Regions from separate parts of the Homo sapiens genome. Here regions 1 and 2 are each linked to region 3. The links are contacts of gene promoters, found by promoter capture Hi-C in human tissues and cell types (Jung and others, 2019). All regions are on one chromosome and are shown on one strand. Each heading gives the region's core, a stretch centred on a gene start or on the middle of the fragment in contact. The rest is flanking DNA. Distances are from core to core; before and after follow the strand shown.

Region 1 (3,726 bases), core at 130-2,629, 36 kb before region 3:
CTCCTGCCTCAGCCTCCTGAGTAGCTGGGACTACAGGTGCACACCACCACGCCCAGCTAATTTTTGTATTTTTAGTAGAGACAGGATTTCATTCACCATGTTGGGCAGGCTGGTCTTGAACTCCTGACCTCAACTGATCTGCCCACCTCTGCCTTCCAAAGTGCTAGGATTACAGGCCTGAGTCACTGTGCCCTGCCCAAGCTGTATCTTAATTAAAAATAGCAGAAGTAAATGAAAATCTCTCTGGTGAAGGCTACCTTCAACCCAGATGGCAAAGAATTCCTAGATATAAAGTGTGTATAAACATGACCTCACAATCAGAAGTGACATCAACAGACATGACTGACAGCAGAATTATGCCCATAAAACTTAAGCTGCTATGATTAAACTATAATACCATTTAGTTTAAAGAAATAAAAGATCTACTTGAAAACATGAGTAAGAAACAAAAGACTAACAAAAATGGGAAGGAGCCAGGTGTTGTGGCAATCCCAGCGCTTTGGGAGGTCAAGGCAAGAGGGGTGCTTGAGCCCAGAAGTGCAAGGCCAACATAAGCAACAAAGCAAGACCTTGTTTCTATGAAATAAAATAGCTAGGCGCAGTGGCTCACACCTGTAATCCCAGCACTTTGGGAGGCCGAGGTCACTTTGGGCAGATCACAAGGTCAGGAGATAGAGACCATCCTGGCTAACACGGTGAAACCCTGTCTCTACTAAAAATACAAAAAAAAATTACCCCGGCGTGGTGGCAGGTGCCTGTAGTCCCAGCTACTCAGGAGGCTGAGGCAGGAGAATGGCATGAACCCGGGAGGTGGAGCTTGCAGTGAGCAGAGATCGCACCACTGCACTCCAGCCTGGGTGACAGAGCGAGATTCTGTCTAAAAAAAGTAAAATAAAACAAATTAGCCAGATGAGGTGGTGTGCACTCATAGGCCCAGCTCTTCGAGAGGCTGAAATGAGCGGATCACTTCGGCTCAGGAGTTCGAGGCTGCAGTGAGCTATGCTCTGTGATTGGGCCACTGTACTCCAGCTTGGATGACAGAGCAAGACCATGTCTCTTAAAAAATAAAAAACTTAAAGCAGCCAGAGAGAAAAAAGAGATTACCTAAAATAAGACAACAATTAAATCAGTCGGGCGCGGTGGCTCACACCTGTAATCCCAGTGTGTCTGGAGTTGGTGGGTTCTTGGTCTCACTGACTTCAAGAATGAAGCCACGGACCCTCGCGGTGAGTGTTACAGCTCTGAAGGTGGTGCGTCTGGAGTTTGTTCCTTCTGATGTTCAGTTGTGTTCGGAGTTTTCTCCTGGTGGGTTCGTGGTCTTGCTGGCTCAAGAGTGAAGGTGCAGACCTTCGCAGTGAGTGTTACAGCTCTTAAGGCAGCGCGTCTGGAGTTGTTTGTTCCTCCCGGTGGGCTCGTGGTTTCGCTAGGCTCAGGAGTGAAGCTGCAGATTTTCGCAGTGAGTGTTACAGCTCATAAAAGCAGCGTGGACCTGAGCAGTAGCAAGATTTATCGCAAAGAGCAAAAGAACAAAGCTTCCACAGTATTGAAGGGGACAATAGCAGGTTGCCAATGCTGACTCCGGCAGCCTGCTTTTATTCTCTTATCTGGCCCCACCCACATCCTGCTGATTGGTAGAGCCGAGTGGCCTGTTTTGACAGGGGGCTGATTGGTGCGTTTACAATCCCTGAGCTAGATACAAAGGTTCTCCACGTCTCCATCAGATTAGTTAGATACAGAGTTTCGACATAAAGGTTCTCCAAGGCCCCACCAGAGCAGCTAGATACAGAGTGTCGATTGGTGCATTCACAAACCTTGAGCTAAACACAGGGTGCTGATTGGTGTATTTACAATCCCTGAGCTAGACATAAAGACTCTCCACGTCCCCACCAGACTCAGGAGCCCAGCTGGCTTCACCTAGTGGATCCCGCACGGGGGCTGCAGGTGGAGCTGCCTGCCAGTTCCGCGCCGTGCGCTCGCACCCCTCAGCCCTTGGGTGGTCGATGGGACTGGGCGCGGTGGAGCAGGGGGCGGCGCTCCTTGGGGAGGCTCGGGCCGCACAGGAGCCCATGGAGTGGGTGGGAGGCTCAGGCATGGCGGGCTGCAGGTCCCGAGCCCTGCCCGGCGGGAAGGCATCTAAGGCCTGGCGAGAAATTGAGCACAGCGCCGGTGGGCCGGCACTGCTGGGGGACCCAGTACACCCTCCGCAGCCACTGGCCCGGGTGCTAAGTCCCTCATTGCCCAGGACCAGCAGGGCTGGCTGGCTGCTCCGAGTGCGGGGCCCACCAAGCCCACGCCCATCTGGAACTCCAGCTGGCCCACAAGCGCCGCACGCAGCCCCGGTTCCCGCTCGTGCCTCTCCCTCCACACCTCCCTGCAAGCTGAGGGAGTGGGCTCCAGCCTTGGCCAGCCCAGAAAGGGGCTCCCACAGTGCAGTGGGGGGCTGAAGGGCTCCTCAAATGCCGCCAAAGTGGGATCCCAGGCAGGGGAGGTGCCAAGAGCAAGCGAGGGCTCTGAGGACTGCCAGCACGCTGTCACCTCTCACCAGCACTTTGGGAGGCCGAGGTGGGTGGATCACCTGAGGTCAGGAGTTTGAGACCAGCCTGACCAACCTGGTAAAACCGTGTCTCTACTAAAAATACAAAAATTAGCCAGGCGTGGTGGCGCATGCCTGTAACCCCAGCTACTCGGGAGGCTGAGACAGGAGAATTGCTTGAACCCGGGAGGTAGAGGGTACAATGAGTGGAGACCGTACCATTGCACTCCAGCCTGAGCAACAAGAGTGAAACTCTGCCTCAAAACAAAACAAAAAAACAATTAAATCGATAGCAGACTTTTCAAAAGCAAGGATGGAAAACCAGAAGACAGTAGAATAATGTCTTCAAAGAGCTGGAATAAAAAGAACAATCAACATACAATTAAACTAATGAAGCTATATTTCAAGAATGATAAGGAAATCAGATCATTTTCAGACAAAAATTAAGTTTATCAACAAACCTTCACTAAAGACATGTTTAAAGGAAATAGTTCAGAAAAAGAGAAAATGAGCCTCCGATAAGTTTGAGATTCAAGAAGAAATGTTGAACATTATAGGATAGTCATTAAAAAAACTAAACATAGAGTGTACTACTCTCAAACTACTAGAGGGAAAAAAATGAAATGAGAAAAATAATTAAATCCAAATGAAAAGAGAGGAAATTAAAACATAGAAAAACAAAGATAATGATAAAGCATCAAATATGATAGAAACATATCTAGCCATTACAGTGAAAACCATAATAAATGTGAATGAACTAAATTAGGAAGGTAAAAGACAAAAATTGTCAAGCTGGATTAAAAGTAAAACAAAACCAAGTTTATAAGAGAAACACCTAAAATAGACACAGATAAAAATATGCCTAACAACATCTAACTAAAAGAAAGCTGGCTGGTTAGCTTGGGCAACATAGTAAGACCCCATATCTACAAAAAAAAAAAAATTAAAATAAGAAAATTAAATACAAAATTAGCCAGGCGTGGTGGTGTGCACCTGTAATCCCAGTTACTCAGGAGGCTGAGGCAGGAGAATTACTTGAACCTGGGAAGTGAGAGGTTGCAGTGAGCCAAGATAGTGCCACTGCACTCCCGCCTGGGCAACAGAGCAAGATTCCGTCTCAAAAAAAAAAAAAAAAGCCAGGGGCAGTGGCTCACTCCTGTAATCCCAGGACTTTGGAAGGCCAAGGAGGGCGG
Region 2 (3,785 bases), core at 487-2,986, 54 kb before region 3:
CTCAGGAAAAAAAAAAAGAAGAAGAAGAAAAAGACATTTTTTATCACCTCCGTTAAACAACTGTGAACATTTCCCCGGATGTGCCTTATATTGACATATTTATGTGGGGTGTGTGTGTGTGTAAACACATAATAACCATTCACACCTGGTTTCTTTAGTATGTACTTCCAAAATAAGCATTCTCTACATGCCACAATACCATATCACATCCAGCACAATAACATGCAGTCTGCTTTCAAGTTGTTGCTATTAGAAACCTATGTCAATAGGGAATAACAATAGTTTCCTAAAATTATGCAGTACTCACTCCAGATTTCCTCGCTTGTTTGTGTCCTCCTTTTTTCAAAACAAGACCTATTAAATAACAATGTATTACATTTGATTGTTAAATTTTTTTTTTTTTTGAGACGGAGCTTCACTCTTGTTACCCAAGCTGGAGTGCAATGGCACAATCTCGGCTCACTGCAACCTTCGCCTCCCGGGTTCAAGCAATTCTCCTGCCTCAGCCTCCTGAGTAGCTGAGATTACAGGCATGCGCCACTATGCCTGGCTAATTTTTGTATTTTTAGTAGAGATGGGATTTCTCCATGTTGGTCAGGCTGGTCTCGAACTCCCGACCTCAGGTGATCTGCCCGCCTCAGCCTCCCAAAGTGCTGGGGTCACAGGTGTGAGTCACCACTCCTGGCTACAATCTCTTTTTTTTTTTTTAATTATGCCCCAGAACTGAGCAATCTCTTGTTTTTTTGTTTGTTTGTTCTGTTTTTTTTTTGAGACAGAGTCTCAAATCTCGGCTCACTGTAACCTCCGCCTCCTGGGTTCAAGCCATTCTGCCTCAGAGTAGCTGGGATTACAGACACACACCACCACGCCCAGCTAATTTTTGTATTTTTAGTAGAGGCGGGATTTCACCACGTTGGCCAGGCTGGTCTTAAACTCCTGACCTCAAGTGATCCACCTCCCCCAGCCTCCCAAAGTGCTGGAATTACAGGCACGAGCCACCGTGCCTGGCCAAATCTCTTGTCTTTTTAAACGTAGAGCAGAAGTTCTTAAGTTAGGAGTCTGTGGATACAATTCAAAGGGTCCATGAAGTTGGATGAGGCAAAAATTACATTTTTATTTTCACCAAATTCTAATTAAAATTTAGCATTTCCTAGGCCGGGTACAGTGGCTCATGCCTGTAATCCAAGCACTTTGGGAGGCCGAGGCGGGCGGATCACAAGGTCAGGAGATCAACACCATCACCATCATGGCGAACACAGTGAAACTCCATCTCTACTAAAAATACCAAAAATTAGCCAGGCGTGGTGGTGGGCGCATGTAGTCCCAGCTAGTCTGGAGGCTGAGGCAGGAGAATGCTGTGAACCTGGGAGGCAGAGCTTCCGGTGAGCTGAGATTGCGCCACTGCACTCCAGCCTGGGCAACAGAGCAAGATTCCATCTCAAAAAAAAAAAAAAATTTAGCATTTCCTTCCATTACAAATGAAGATAACGAAGTACAATACTATGAGCTGTGGCTTTGTCATCAATATAAATTACAGAAGTTTTCATATCACATTACGGCTAATGAAAATATCTCAGAAATATCATTTATATTCATCACTACTTTAAAACTATTATAGTTGGCCAGGCGCAGTGGCTCACGCTTGTAATCCCAGCACTTTGCGAAGCCGAAGCAGACGGATCACGAGGTCAGGAGTTCAAGACCAGCCTGGCCAACATGGTGAAATCCCGTCTCTACTAAAAATACAAAAATTAGCTGGGTGTGGTGGTGCATGCCTGTAATCCCAGCTACTCGGGATGCTGAGGCAGGAGAATGGCTTGAACTCAGGAGGTGGAGGTTGCCGTGAGCTGAGATTGTACCACTGCACTCCAGCCTGGGTGACAGAGCAAGACCCTGTCTCTAAATAAATAAATAAAATAAAACTATTGTAGTTATTGGACCTGCTGCTAGATCTTGTTATTTAGTGCATTAATAATGGAACATGTGTATTCCATATTGTACTTTAAAATATTTTGATAACTATATTTCTCCGGGTGTGGTGGCTCACACCTGTAATCCCAGCACTTTGGGAGGCCGAGGCGGGCAGATCACTTGAGGTCAGGAGTTTGAGACCAGCCTGACCAACATGGAGAAACCCCGTCTCTACTAAAAGTACAAAATTAGCCAGGCGTGGTGACACATGCCTGTAATCCCAGCTACTTGGGAGGCTGAGGCAGGAGAATCGCTTGAACCTGGGAGGCGGAGGTTGCGGTGAGCCAAGATCGCGCCATTGCACTGCAGCCTGGGCAACAACAGCAAAACTCCGTCTCAAAAAAAAAAAAAACCTATTTTTTAATGATCCTGTTTTTTATTTCATGCATTTAAGACATTCTGAGAAAAGAATTCATTGGCTTCACCAGACTGTCAGTGGGGCTGGAGGGGAAGCCTTTGGCTCAAATACAGTCTGCCCCCACACACATAGCCTTTATTAGTAGTGGTATTAGTCTTTGTTTAGTATTAGTATTTGCTTTCTGAAGAGCCCAGGCCTTTGTTGAATGTCTGACATTCTGGGTTCACCTGATTATTTACTCACGGTGTTACTTGTTATTTACATTTCCTATAAATGTAAAGTTAGGTCTAAAGACTTGATTAGATCTAAGTTGAGTGTTTTGACAAGATTATTTTAAAGGTGATGCTGTGCAGTTCTCATTGCATTACATCAGCAGGCACATGATATCTGGTTGTCCCACTGTTAGTGATGCTAAGTGTGATCACTGAGCTACAGAGGTTAAGACACTTTTGTTTTTGCAGAATCTAATGATATTTAAATTTATGGAAAAATGTAAACATATACAATAGCAGAGGTGATAGTGTAATGAACTCTGTTGTATGGGTCACTCAGCTTCTACAGTTATTAACATGTGGCCAATCTTGTTTCATTGGTATCTCTTCATTCCTCTCCCCCGAAAAATGCATATACACAGATTCCAGAGATCATGTCTTTTTTATTCATAAACAATTTAGTATGTATCTCTAAATGACGTTGTTGCATTTAATTGCAAATAACTCCTTATCTTCAAGTACCCAGTCTGTGTTCAGATTCCCTGATTGTCTCATACATGTTTCTTTATGACTGGTTCAAATCAAGATGGAAACAAAGTCCACACATTTCATTCCATTAAGGTATCTCTGTCTCTTTTTTTGCCATTTACTTGTTGAAGAAACTGGACTGCATTAAATTAGCACACTGTCTTAAAGTGTTCATTTATAGATTAATTGAACATAACATCTTCAAATATGAGTTCCATGGGAGAATAAAATGTATTTGACGTTGTATATCTTTGCATTTTTTAGTACAAATAGTAATAAGTCACTACTCAACATAATGAATCATCAGCCAAAATAAGAAAAAATATCCATTAAGATTAAGCTTGTTCCTTTCAGCCGGAACCGCCATCTTCCAGTAATTCGCCAAAATGACGAACACAAAGGGAAAGAGGAGAGGCACCCAATATATGTTCTCTAGGCCTTTTAGAAAACATGGAGTTGTTGCTTTGGCCACGTATATGCAAATCTATAAGAAAGGTGATATTGTAGACATCAAGGGAATGGGTACTGTTCAAAAAGGAATGCCCCACAAGTGTTACCATGGCAAAACTGGAAGAGTCTATAATGTCCCCCAGCATGCTGTTGGCATTGTTGTAAACACACAAGTTAAGGGCAAGATTCTTGCCAAGAGAATTAATGTGCGTATTGAGCACATTAAGCACTCTAAAAGCTGAGATAGTTTCCTGAAACACATGAAG
Region 3 (3,925 bases), core at 1-2,500:
GAAGTAGGTGAAGCCAGGAGGGGCTGGTAGGTTGGGCGAAGAGGAAGGTATCAAGGGACTGGAGGAAGAGCAATACATAGTGGGACTGTGAAGGTGGAAAGGACTGCAGAGTCGGGTCTGACAGGGGGGCACCTGAGCTTCGGATTTCCAAGATGGAGCAGTTCTGAGGGATGACACAGCCCAGGCTTTGGCCCTGAGACCTGATGGCTGAGGTGGAGTGGAAGGTCACTGGAGATGAGATGGAGGAAGTAGGTGACCCTGTACTACACAAATTCCCTAGAGGACAGACAGGTTGAGGGTGGAGAGGAAGCCAGAAGTGAGCTTCCAGGAATTGAATGAAAGGGCCCAGGAGATTGGACAATGAGGAGGTGTGCGGGCCTCAGAGGGCAGGGGGCACACAAAGACTAACCAAGGGGAGGAAGCTGACCGCAACCGCCCCGAGGACAAGACGGGCGTCCTCGGTACAGGGCCATGTTTAGTGACGGCAGAAGGGAGAAAGGAAGCTCCTGGGAGCACAGGGGGAAGGGGAGCCGGAAGCCAGAGCCAGGGCTGGGGCCACGAAGGACAGACGGCCGGTGTTGGAGGCGGAGGCTGGCCTGGGATGTGAGGCTGGGGTTGGCCGGCCTCCAGGCTCCCCGGGAGCCCCTGCTGAAAGTCTGTGGGCGCTGGCCTGGGCGAAGCCGCGGTCCCCCGCCTGTGGGCTCAACTCTGCGCTCTGCTTCAAGCAAACGCACTAGGAGAGGAGTCAGGAGACGAGGAACTGCGGGGCCCCACCTCGCGCGGGCAACCGCTGTCTGTCCAGGGAGGGCCCAGGCCTGTCTCCGCAGATAGCTTTGAAGCAGGGCCCCCGGTGTGGCCCTCTGGAGGCCTCCCGCGTCCCCTTTTGAGGGGCTGCCCTGCTTGGCCTGGGGAACACAGCGAAGGGCACCTCGTGGAGCCCAATTTAGGGACAACACATTAATTCTGGAAATTCCAGATTCTTTCCGGGGGTCCTCAACCGGCCGGGGTCGGAAAGGCCTGGCAGGGCTCCGCCGGCAGGGGGCGCTCGGGACAGGGGGGCGAGGGGGGCGGACATCCGTTGCGGGGCGCTGCCTGCGCCGGGCCGGCCAGCCCTTGAGGCGAGCACGGCCTGCGGGGCCGATGAGGCCGGGGCCGGCCGGGGCGGGGCGGGGCCAGGGGCGGGGGAAGGAGTCCGAGGGGCGGGGCGGGGGCCGGCAGCCGCCCTCCCTCACTCTCCCTCCCTTTCTTTCTTTCTTTCTTTCTCTCCTTCTAGCTCTCTTGTCTTTTCTTTGCCTCTGCAGCGGCCAAGGGGGCGGGCCCTGCAGCCTTTGTTGCCCGCGGACCGAGCGCAGCCGAACGGAGTCGGGGCCGGGTCGCCGGGAGCTGCACGCCGGCCGGGCATGTCCTGAGCCGGACCTGGGACCAGGCAGCGACCGGACGGGACGGACGAGAGCGTGCGCGCGGGGTCACCCGGCGGCCGCCCGGTTCCTGCCATGCCCGGCGGCCCCAGTCCCCGCAGCCCCGCGCCTTTGCTGCGCCCCCTCCTCCTGCTCCTCTGCGCTCTGGCTCCCGGCGCCCCCGGACCCGCACCAGGTGGGTGTCCGCCCCTCCCCGGCCAGCCGGGCCTGCCACCCCTTCCCGCTCCCCCAGTCTCGGTTTTGTCCCTCCTCACCTTTGTGGACCCCGCGCCGGCTCCGCTGTGCCTGGAGTTGGTCGCGTCTTCCGCTCCCTGGGTATTAGGGGACAGTAGTCGGGGTCGGGCCGGGCCGGGAGCGAAGCCGCGCTTCTGGGGAAACTTCCTCGGCCCCTGATTCAGTTACTGACACTGCCTGTCGCCTGGAATAAGCCCCTTCCGCTCTTCGGGCTCCGGTTTCCCCACCTCGGGTGCAGCAACGCGCCTGGCTCCCGGGAGAGCTCTCGTCCGAGTGGGCTGGACGGAGCGCGGTTTACCCACTGAGGATTTGGTTTCTCACACTCCTTAGCGAGGCTCGCCTGGAAAGCGGGCTGGCCGGGACACAGCCGGCGAGGGCGCCAGGTCGCAGGTCTTCGCGGGACCCCGCCGCCCCCCCAGCTCCCGCCCACCGCATCTGGGCTGCTGGCGCGGCCCCTGGCGGCTCGGGGGGCCGGGTCTTGCGCGGTCCTTGCACTTCCTGCCTCTCCCTTCCCCAAGTGTGAAGACGCCGGGAGTGGAGCGGGGAGCAGGAGCTTCTTTTCCCGGCCATGGGTTAACTCTCCCCGCCCCGCCGGGCCGGCCTCCGACGAGCCTCTGGCCTGCGTCCAGACTCTTGTTTGGCGGCGACCTGCCGGGCGGCCGCGCTGCTGGCGCGTCCGACGCAGCCGGCCTGGGAATTCAGTAACCGAGGATGTAGGAGACCCCAGGCCCGGTGCTCAGGGAGCTCCCAGTCAGGGGAGCCGGTGGATAGTGGGGAGAGTCCTGCAATAGAGCCGACCGGCAGGCTTTGTAGGAGAGGAGGGGCATGAGGTTGGAGAGACTGGAAGGATGGATGGATTCTGGATGAGCTAGAAGGGCGTGGAGGGAGTGGGGCCCTCCCCTGGGGAGCATCAGTCGGGGGACTGGATTAGGGTTGCTTGCTGGGATGGGGTCGACCTGCCTCCCCACTGGAGGGATTGTGACGAGAAAGTAGTCTGGGCGGGAAGGATGGGGACATTGACTCTTGATCTTAGAGGTTTGGGAAGCCGTTGAGGGGAGCAGCTGATGAAAGCAGTGTTTTGGAAAGATTTGGTCTAGCAGCCATGCGCAGAGCGCAGAGGGAGCGAACATTTAATGAGCACCTACTGTGTGCCAGCCTCACGGGTTCTTATTTCTCATCATCTCCACAACAACCGTGCAAAGCAAGTGATGGAAAGTCCTTTTATGGACCAGCAAACAGGCTCAGAGTAGAGCGACCTGTGGGGTTGGACTCCTGAGCTTCCTGAATGAGGCTTGTGTTTTCCACTGTCCAGAGCTGGGGGCTGAGGAGGATGAACCGGGCGATGGGAATGGGAGAGCAGGAAAATGCTTCCCTCAGGACTTGGGTCCTGGCCCCCTGGCAGCTGTGGGAAGAGTTGGGTGCGGTCAACCTCGTGGGATTCTTATGAGGATTAAATGAGATATTGAATATGTCAGTTGCTCAGGCAGGACACAGTGACTACAATGTAGTGGTCATTATTTTTATTAATCTGCCAGGCCGACCCAGGACTCCCCAGATGACCTGGACCTGCTGTTTGAGGGTGGAGGCAGGCCAGGCACTCTCTCCAACCTAATCTGGGCACAAACACTCCAAGGGTGAAGTCTGTCTCTAGTGTTCCCATAGATATAGAGCATGGGGTCCTTCCTGTTCTGCACTCCCTCAGGATTGGTGACTCTGAGGCTGCTGGCCTGTTTGTCATTTTCTTTGAAGCCCAGGACCTAAGCCTGGGGCTCCTCCTACCACTGAATGTTACCTTCTTTAAGACCAAAGGGCTCATCCTGGGCTCACTTTTAGGAAAATATATCCCTTTTCCCCACTTGTGACTGACCCAGGGACCTGCTAGGGTTTCTGAGGCTGGAGCCCAGTCATGTGTCCTCCTCATGCCGTATGGCACATGTGAACTCTGTGTGCATGTGTTTCTGTGCATACTAGAACTCACAGAGGAGGGCATTCACATACTACCCCCCACCCTGCCAGTTATTTTTCCTCCTTGGCATGAGCTGTGGGTCATTTGAAGGGCTGGATTGTAACTCAGGTTCTTGATAGGGAGGTGAGGGTAAACACCATCTTGGCATTTCTTTGGTAGAAGCTCCAAAGTGACAGTTCTGTCACCCAGGGGAGATATTAAAAGTATTTAACACCCAATGTGGCAGGAGCTTGGTCCAATCAGAACAGACCTCCTGACTTGGCAGAATAGATTTGGCCATGAATCTCTGGCAGTCCTCTTGAATGGT

The links. The method cuts DNA at HindIII sites, captures the fragments that hold promoters and counts their contacts. A contact is called where the count stands out against the background at its distance.
Region 1: a contact is called between a fragment that was not itself captured here and the fragment with the promoter of ADAMTS7 in region 3, in 3 of the 25 tissues and cell types used here (hippocampus, mesendoderm cells and thymus).
Region 2: a fragment that was not itself captured here is called in contact with the fragment with the promoter of ADAMTS7 in region 3 in 3 of the 25 tissues and cell types used here (mesenchymal stem cells, mesendoderm cells and ovary).

Annotation. Positions count from the first base shown.
Region 1 is chr15:78,845,506-78,849,231 of GRCh38, reverse strand. No RefSeq gene overlaps it. Among named protein-coding and RNA genes, the nearest start is that of TRK-CTT1-2, 13 kb to the left of the region's middle. The HindIII fragment of the contact is 5,610 bases long and covers 1-3,726 here.
Region 2 is chr15:78,863,400-78,867,184 of GRCh38, reverse strand. It overlaps LOC124903535 (a long non-coding RNA gene), which reads right to left. Exons shown (of 2, transcript XR_007064727.1): 2 at 2,965-3,785. It also overlaps the pseudogene RPL21P116. Among named protein-coding and RNA genes, the nearest start is that of TRK-CTT1-2, 4.7 kb to the right of the region's middle. The HindIII fragment of the contact is 3,939 bases long and covers 1-3,705 here.
Region 3 is chr15:78,808,789-78,812,713 of GRCh38, reverse strand. ADAMTS7 (ADAM metallopeptidase with thrombospondin type 1 motif 7) reads left to right here and starts at 1,250. Exons shown (of 24, transcript NM_014272.5): 1 at 1,250-1,593. The coding sequence starts at 1,494. RefSeq lists a silencer at 803-1,222. The HindIII fragment of the contact is 14,119 bases long and covers 1-3,925 here.